Linked DNA regions of Homo sapiens: region 2 is linked to region 1. The links are contacts of gene promoters, found by promoter capture Hi-C in human tissues and cell types (Jung and others, 2019). All regions are on one chromosome and are shown on one strand. The core of a region is centred on a gene start or on the middle of the fragment in contact, and the rest is flanking DNA. Distances in the headings are between cores, read along the strand shown.

What was found. Contacts are between HindIII fragments. The study calls those that stand out against the background at their distance.
Region 2: a contact is called between a fragment that was not itself captured here and the fragment with the promoter of PKHD1 in region 1, in 2 of the 25 tissues and cell types used here (H1 embryonic stem cells and thymus).

Annotation. Positions count from the first base shown.
Region 1 is chr6:52,086,159-52,090,067 of GRCh38, forward strand. PKHD1 (PKHD1 ciliary IPT domain containing fibrocystin/polyductin) reads right to left here and starts at 1,455. Exons shown (of 67, transcript NM_138694.4): 1 at 1,276-1,455. The HindIII fragment of the contact is 13,504 bases long and covers 1-3,909 here.
Region 2 is chr6:52,123,890-52,127,670 of GRCh38, forward strand. No RefSeq gene overlaps it. Among named protein-coding and RNA genes, the nearest start is that of MIR206, 19 kb to the right of the region's middle. The HindIII fragment of the contact is 6,917 bases long and covers 1-3,781 here.

The DNA of each region.
Region 1 (3,909 bases), core at 205-2,704:
GGAGTGCAGTGGCATGATGTCAGTTCACTGCAACCTCCATCTCCCAGGTTCAAGTGATTCTTATGCCTCAGCCTCCTGAGTAGCTGGGATTACAGGTGTGCGCCACCACACCCGGCTAATTTTTGAATTTTTTGTAGAGACAGGTTTTCACCATGATAGCCAGACTGGTCTTGAACTCCTGGCCTCAAGTGATCTCCCTGCCTCAGCCTCCCAAAGTGCTGGGATTACAGGCATGAACCACCACACCTGGCCATTTAATTTATATTTTTAAGAAAACACTGAGATTAGCAGAAGTAGTTACATCATTTCTGAAAATATAAAAGCTACAATATACTCCCCCCCTCAAAAAAAAAATCTGCAAAAACTTTGCAATAAACTCACCTTACGGGCATGTTCTGATTGAGACAGCTGGAAATCTATAATCATTTCTATTTAATTCAACACTGCAAACATTTATTGTATGCCCACTACGTGCTAAGCACTATACTAAAAGTTGGGAAAACAAACAATCTATGTACCTGCCCCCGAGTCATTACCAGATAGGGTAAGTGTGGAGGCTACTTGGATTTAAGAAAGGAATTCTAGTATTTTCAAGTGGATTCAGCAAGTGTTCCTTTTCGTTGCAAAATTCCCAAACTTTTACGTCTATTTGAAATAGAATTCAACTTATAAATATACAACTTTCAGAATACATCTACCACATAGGGAAAAGTACCCAAGCGTATTTGCTGCTTAGTCCAAAAGCATGAGATCTGACTTGCTTGTTACACAGACAAAATATACTCAGCACAGGAGAGTCTATTTTCAATCTGGCTACGTGATTTTAACATTTCTTCTTAATGCCTACTCCCAAGCTCAGAACAATAGAAATAAACATTCGCACACTGGTTTTCTTAAAACCCTACATTTGGAACTGCATCTTTTTCATGTCAATTATAAATGTAATTTTTTATTAGTCTATCCACTAATTCTTCCTAAAAATAAACTCAGACTCTCTTTATTTCTCATAACTAAAATTTTTCAACCACAGAGGAGAGCTGTGTGCATTTATTTAGTCATGTTTTTGTTCTCCTCTCTCTCTCTCCTCTCTCTGCTCTCACTCCCTCTTCCCTTCTTCCTCCCTTCCCTCTCAGCTTCTCCTTTGGGACATCGAGGGACAAAGTTGCAAGGCACTACTATAGATCTCCCATTTCTTCCTTTTGTTCACCAGAACGTTAACAAGAGATACAACACCTAGAAAACAGAGAGCAGAGACTTTTCTGGATCAAACAGTACCTTTTTTTTCTGTTTCTGTCTCCTTGTGACTCAAGGGAGAAATGATCCTTTCTTTCTAAGTGATCTTATTTCTCTCTGTCAAGAATCCGTGGACATGTTATCTGGTTAGAGCTCAGCCTGCAGCCACCACGCAGGTAACTCACTCACGTTAGACTATAACTCACCTAACTCGTTTGTGTCCCAGCCAAATGTGTACCAGAGTAAAAGTTCAGACCTGACCATGGGTAAGTTTAATGATTAACATAAGCCACTCAGGCTTTTTCCTCAGGGCTTGTTAGTAATGACCAAAGGAAAAGTGTCTTACATTTTTCTCCACTTACTGCATGTGCCCCAGATAAGAATTTTAAGTAAAAGTCCACCCAGTGAGACAAACAGGCATTCAACATTGAAAGAATTTGCCAGCAAATCAGCGATTGAACAGAGGGCTCAAGAGAAAGGACCACTAGAGGGCAGATCCCCATTCATGAACAGTCTCTCACTCTTCATCCCGAAGAGTGACTCGTAAATACCAGGTTATGGGCTGTTATTCATATACCCACTGTAGGGGTATGGGTCTAAAGAAGTACAGAAGGGAAGTAACTTGGTCCAAGTCTTGCTGAGAAAGGGTTGATTGATTCTCTTCATTTTTCTACTCCTCATCCTCCCTCTTGACCTTGCTTTTTTAACCAAGAGGAGGTCCTTGACTTGTACTCATCACCCTCCAGTCGTACCCAGACCATGGGCCTCAGTCATCGGTTGAACTGGTGGGCCTAGGAAGGTCAACAACACCTTCTTACTTGGTCCATGTCTGACTTCTCTGTTCCTGTCCCACTGCCCATTCTGATTCACATCCCCCAATTCCTGATCATGTTTGTCTACGTCTGGCGATACCTGACCAGAAGACGTCCTTATCTTCTATCCTCTCCCTTTCCTTTGAGGGAGAAGTCATTTTGGTAAAATTTGATAGCCCTGAGTCTCCACCTTCAAGGACCAGCAGTAGACCTGGAGAAGCATCTCCAGCAAAACCAGATTAAAGCCATGGAAATACGACCACAACTCTGATGACAGTAGTAAAACTATCCTCTAGAAAGTGTGGAAGTTTACATCAACTCTGCTGTATATCACAGTTTGGCAACCCGTGACAAGCTGAAAAATTTTTGTAGCCCTGAAGCTAGTGGTGTAGAGAGAGGGTGCTTGGCCAGATTGGGGCAGGTAGGGGGTCAGTCACCCCACCACCCTGCCTGCCTGCTGAACCTCTCTCAGTTTCCACTCTGGATCTCTTCCATGCAGGTCAACAAGCATCATTTGAACCACATTTGTGTGCCTGGCATGTGGGTAATGGGAAGGAGGGGGAAGACTAGTTTGGGGGTAAAGGAGATTTCAACATTATTAGTAACTTTTATTTTTATAAAAATGATATGAATCACTTAGATAATTCAAAGTTATATTTTTAAAGAGTATGACACAGTTTCTGCCTTCAAACTGCTTACCATCTGGCAGAGGAGACAGAAATATAATCAGATTATTTTATTATATTGTAGAGTCTCCTGATAAGTTTCCTAAGACTTATGTTTTATTTCTTGTTATTTCAACAAGAGGTTTCCATAAATTAGCCCCACATCTATCCTTGGCTAAAAGGCCTATAATAAATATTTATAAGTATTTTTGGCAGCCTAGCTATCAAGGCCGCATCCTAAAATCACCCCAATTTTCTTATGAGGAGACAGCCACCTCTCTACTATGGACTAAAAGAATCCTAATGACACCCAGGACTTTGGTTTCTGTGCTCTGTGTTATAGGTATTTCGTGGTGGACAATCAAGCTCTATTGTAAAAGAAATAAAGGACAATGAATCATTTCTTGCCTTGAGGCCTAAAAGGAAATGTTGTAGAACTCTAGAGAAAGTGGCTATACCACATGAAGCTTTGGGGAGCCTCCAGTATTCCTGTCATTGGGATATGTCCATGGAATATAAGCCCCTTACACTCCAAAGCCTCTTTCACATAGAAATTCTAAAGCCTTGAGCTCAAGTCTCTGAAAATGCTTCTCAGGAGGCAGGCTGAGCACCATTTCTCTGCTATTCCAAGGAGGGTAGCCATGCCCACCACAGACATTGACAACACTCTACAAGAAGTAATTCCTATGAGTGCTTATAAAATTCTCAGCACAAAAATTGTTACTCAGGCCTATGATGCAAACTCAGGGAGGTCAGGAGAGAGGGTTAATCTCTGACCCCTTTCTCTTGGATTCTAACACTGCTCTGAATTCCTGGAAAACTGTGGGGGCCCATGAGAATGCACCTTGCAGATCTCCAATTACAAGAAGCATAAAAGATCAAGGGCCTAGTTTCTTTGCCATAAAATTCATCACTGCATTTGGACCAAGGCCACGCTTCTACATGCTGCTCCCAGCCAAGGACTGAGTGTGGAAGGATAGTAAGACAGGTCCATCCAGAGGAGACACAGGACTCCTCCAACAGCAACTTTGCCTTAAAGCCTGCCTGATGACCTTGCTGAACCTTCCTAGAGTATGTGGCAACCTAGGATGCTTCCACCCCCTCTCTTTCACTGTGGTCAGACTGGCAGCTTGCCCAGTGTTCTCCAGTTCCAACCCATCTTTTCTCACAGGCACCACCTTAATAAAATCCTTGCACGT
Region 2 (3,781 bases), core at 635-3,134, 38 kb after region 1:
ATCTATGCTTCCTAAGAACCTTTATAAAGTCAATGAAAAGTGTGAGCCCAGAGGTGAGCAGTCAGATTTCACATGCAGATAATGTATTTGTCCTGTAGCAAAAATCTTGACAGACTATAAAGTTGTGTTTTTGTTTCCTTTTCTTCATCTTAGAACTGTAAAGGTAGCTCCCCTTTGGAGGGGATATATGTATGGATCAGGACAGCTATCCTAAGACTAGAAGAAGGAATGCTATCATTTGGATAAAAGAGTAGAATCAACATGTTGTTCATTTTTTCTGTGAGAAGGCTAAGATGAGGGGCAAGAGAGACATACTGGGGGGAGTTATGGAGATTGGGTATTGGAACTGTACTGGAGATTGGATACCTGGACCATATCCCTGAGTCATGATAAAGTTGAACCATGGCCCAGAAGATGCAAAAGCAGTGCATCCGGAAAGCAACCACTATGTGAATCACCCAGCCAGTCTTAGCAGGCTGTCCCTGATGTGAGTAGAGCCATTCATTCAACAAACACTCTTCTAATTATTTAGGATACATCAGTGAACAAAATATCAAATTTATATTTTAGCCATCATCTTTTCTGTGCACTGAAACCTTACCTATTCGCTCTCCAGATATTGCCTGTATGGAAGCATGACCTACAGGTAAAAGTTCTCTAATAGATATTCATTTGTCCACTGATGCCCCAGATACTTATAACCCCTGAGGCCAAAAATCACCTCTAGAGTCCTAGCAGAGTGGAGAAGCAAGGATGCCTATGTGGGGTCTGCTAGGACACTCCCCACAGGAAAGAAGGGATGTGGGTCCCCCTGGGACATGTTCTTTCATTCTTATCAAACAAATCAAAATAAAATACAGCTTATTCAATAGAGTCTTCCATCACCTCTTATTCTCCAGAGCAGAGGCTGAATGTCAAACATTTACTTAGTTCTTTCTCTTATTGCCAACATAAACCACATTTAATCAAAATTCCAAAACATTCTTCCAGGGTGGTTAGGAGAGGTTAATGATTGATTGCCTGTCACAAAAGAGCTGACAGGATGATCATTCTCAGAAGCTGCTTGAACTGAGTCCTCCACTGAATATTTAGCTGTTCTGTGGACCCATCTCATGGCCAACCTTGTAGCTGGTTTGTGTTCAAAGAGTCCAAGATCCATACTGGCATCTGGGATCCACTGACCTTCTTAGTGCTACACGCTTGCCCTAAAATTCTAGGGTCTTCCTCAGAACTTTATTTTTCCTGACATAAATGCTAATAATATTTTCCCTGAGAAGCTGAACTTCCATCTCAGCAGCGATTATTTGAGGTAATACATCTAGTGTTCTCTGCCCAAGAGAAATTCAGGAGGGGGGTTTCAGCATGAAAGGCTTTTGTATTTGGGGGGAGGTGGGAATTTCCTACTGTTCAACAGGTTTTTGTTGTAAACATTAACTAGGTGACCTGCCAGCCTTGGGTTTGGAGGGCAGGGTGAAGCTGGGGAAACATGTGGGAGGGAGTGCCACTTCTGTCCCAGGAGGGAGGCCAGGCACCAGGCAGCCTGCATTCACCATTCTCCTGACGTCATGTGGGGACCTCCCTCCCAATTCTCCTTCAAATGATTTTCAGGAAGACTGGTGATCTGTATCGATGTGTCCATCAGAGGGTTTAGACAGAAAATTCACTCTTGTTTTGGGGGAAAAAAAAGGAGAGAAAGGCTCACTTCAACCAGAATTATTGCAAATGAGTAATTTCCAGCCCTAGCCTTTTCTGAAAGTGGGAAGGCACTGGGGATGGTAACTCAAGAGGCAACTAGTAGGGAAAAAAGAAGGGGTTTCACCAGTTGCTGCTCACCAAGAACTAAGGGTTTTTTATGTAACCTGAGTTTCCACTGGCCCCTGTCCCCTACATACATTGGAATGTAGTGGCAGATAGGGTGTCATCATCAACCCAAATGTCACAGGAACTTGCTCTTTTCTACACGTTCAGCAGAACCTTAGCTTCCTTCCCCCCAACATGTTAAAATTTCTGGCTCTCCTCTGAGAAGTTTTATATGCTCACAAGTAAGTGCATCAGCTACCAATGGCCTCTGCTAGATGCTACTGGCAGTTCCTTGGGAACCAAAGATTGAAAAATGGATGCCACACTACTTTATGTGCAATATAATTAAACACCCCCTCTGACTCAATCATTCTACAAATTTAATTTATATACATTTTACATACACCAAATATTAATATAATAAGACTCACACGTAAGCCAGGCAAGGTGGCATGCACCCATAGTCCCAGTGACTTGGGATCCCTTGAGCCCAGGAGTTGCAATCCAGCCTAAGCAATATAGCAAGACTCTGTCTCAAAAAAAAAAAAAAGAAAAAAATACATAAAGAGCAAGAGAGCAATGTGGCCTCTTTATTCTTGTATGATAATCTCCTAGATGGAATTAGTGATAGGTGAAACTATTGCTCCATTACAAAAGGAAAAAGCATAATTCCAAATGGTGGAATTCAACCTGGTACTCTGAAGAAAGTTGATTTTTCATTGTGGTTGAAAAATGTAAAAGGCAGTCACTTGGCTGTCTCTCCAGTTTGCCTGCTTTTGTACCCTTAGGCATTTTCCAATGGTGTAAGCTTATTTCACCATTTTATATGCAAGTATATTTAAATCTATAGAATCCATGACTGTCAAATATCATAGCCCCTGAGGATGACAAACACCTTCTTCACTCAGCTCCATGCCATAATAGTGTAAAATAATTAACTTGAAAGAAGTCAGCCCAGAGTGCCACAAAAACAGTCACTTTTTTCCTCAGCTCTTCTCTGCTCTCACTCCAACCCCAAGCAAACATTTTTCAGCTGGTTAGGCTAGATGTCTGAAAACTGGAGTAAACAGAGACCTTCTAACAGGTACAAGGACACAGACAGTTTTAGGGGAACCGCTTCCCAAATCCTTGGCTCCCACATATATTCAGAGAGTACTCTGCTGAAATTCATTTCTCACTACTTCAACCAGGTTGTCCATTTCTATTTCTCCTTTCACAGCCTTACTTTTTCCACTGTACAGAAAGAAATATACACCTTTAATTTCTCCTGATTCTTCCTGTGGTGCATTTTCCCAAGGTGTAATAAAAACTCTGGGGTGTCAAAAATGGGCAATTCGAAATGTTGGTGTCTGTAAAACCTGCTTCAATCAAGACAATGAAGCTACAGTAGAGCTGCCTGTCTTTTCCTTCTTTGATATATTTCTGTTACTACAAAGTCTGGCATTAGAAATGGGAATTTGAGCCAATATTAGGGTGTTCTAAATTTAGATATGTAGAAGAATAGGATGGCAGGAGTGATGACAATTTTAAATTAATGACTTTATCTCTTTAATTCCATATCATTAAAATAGACATGGCTCCAGAGAGAAGTCGCATAAGATTAGATATAAACAATTATATAAATCTTGCAGTATCTTTTATTTTCAAACATCTAGATTTGAAAAATAAAACTATTAAATTTTTGTTAATGAAAACTGAGGAGATTGGCAAAAATGTAAATAATTTTAATGTTTTCATGTAGTTATCAAAGTTGACTTTGGAAAATCTATTACAAATTAGCAACATTCATTGCAAAAAATGGAAAGTATTGTATGATTGTAGAAAAAGTTATAATTCTTTATGCACTGTTGATAGCTACAATTATGCTAGATGCCAAGAGCATCACTCATTAACTCCGTGATTCATTAATTCACTCATCCACCAACTGTTGTTGGATGAATGAATTCATCCAACAATTAATTCATTCATTAATTCATTAATC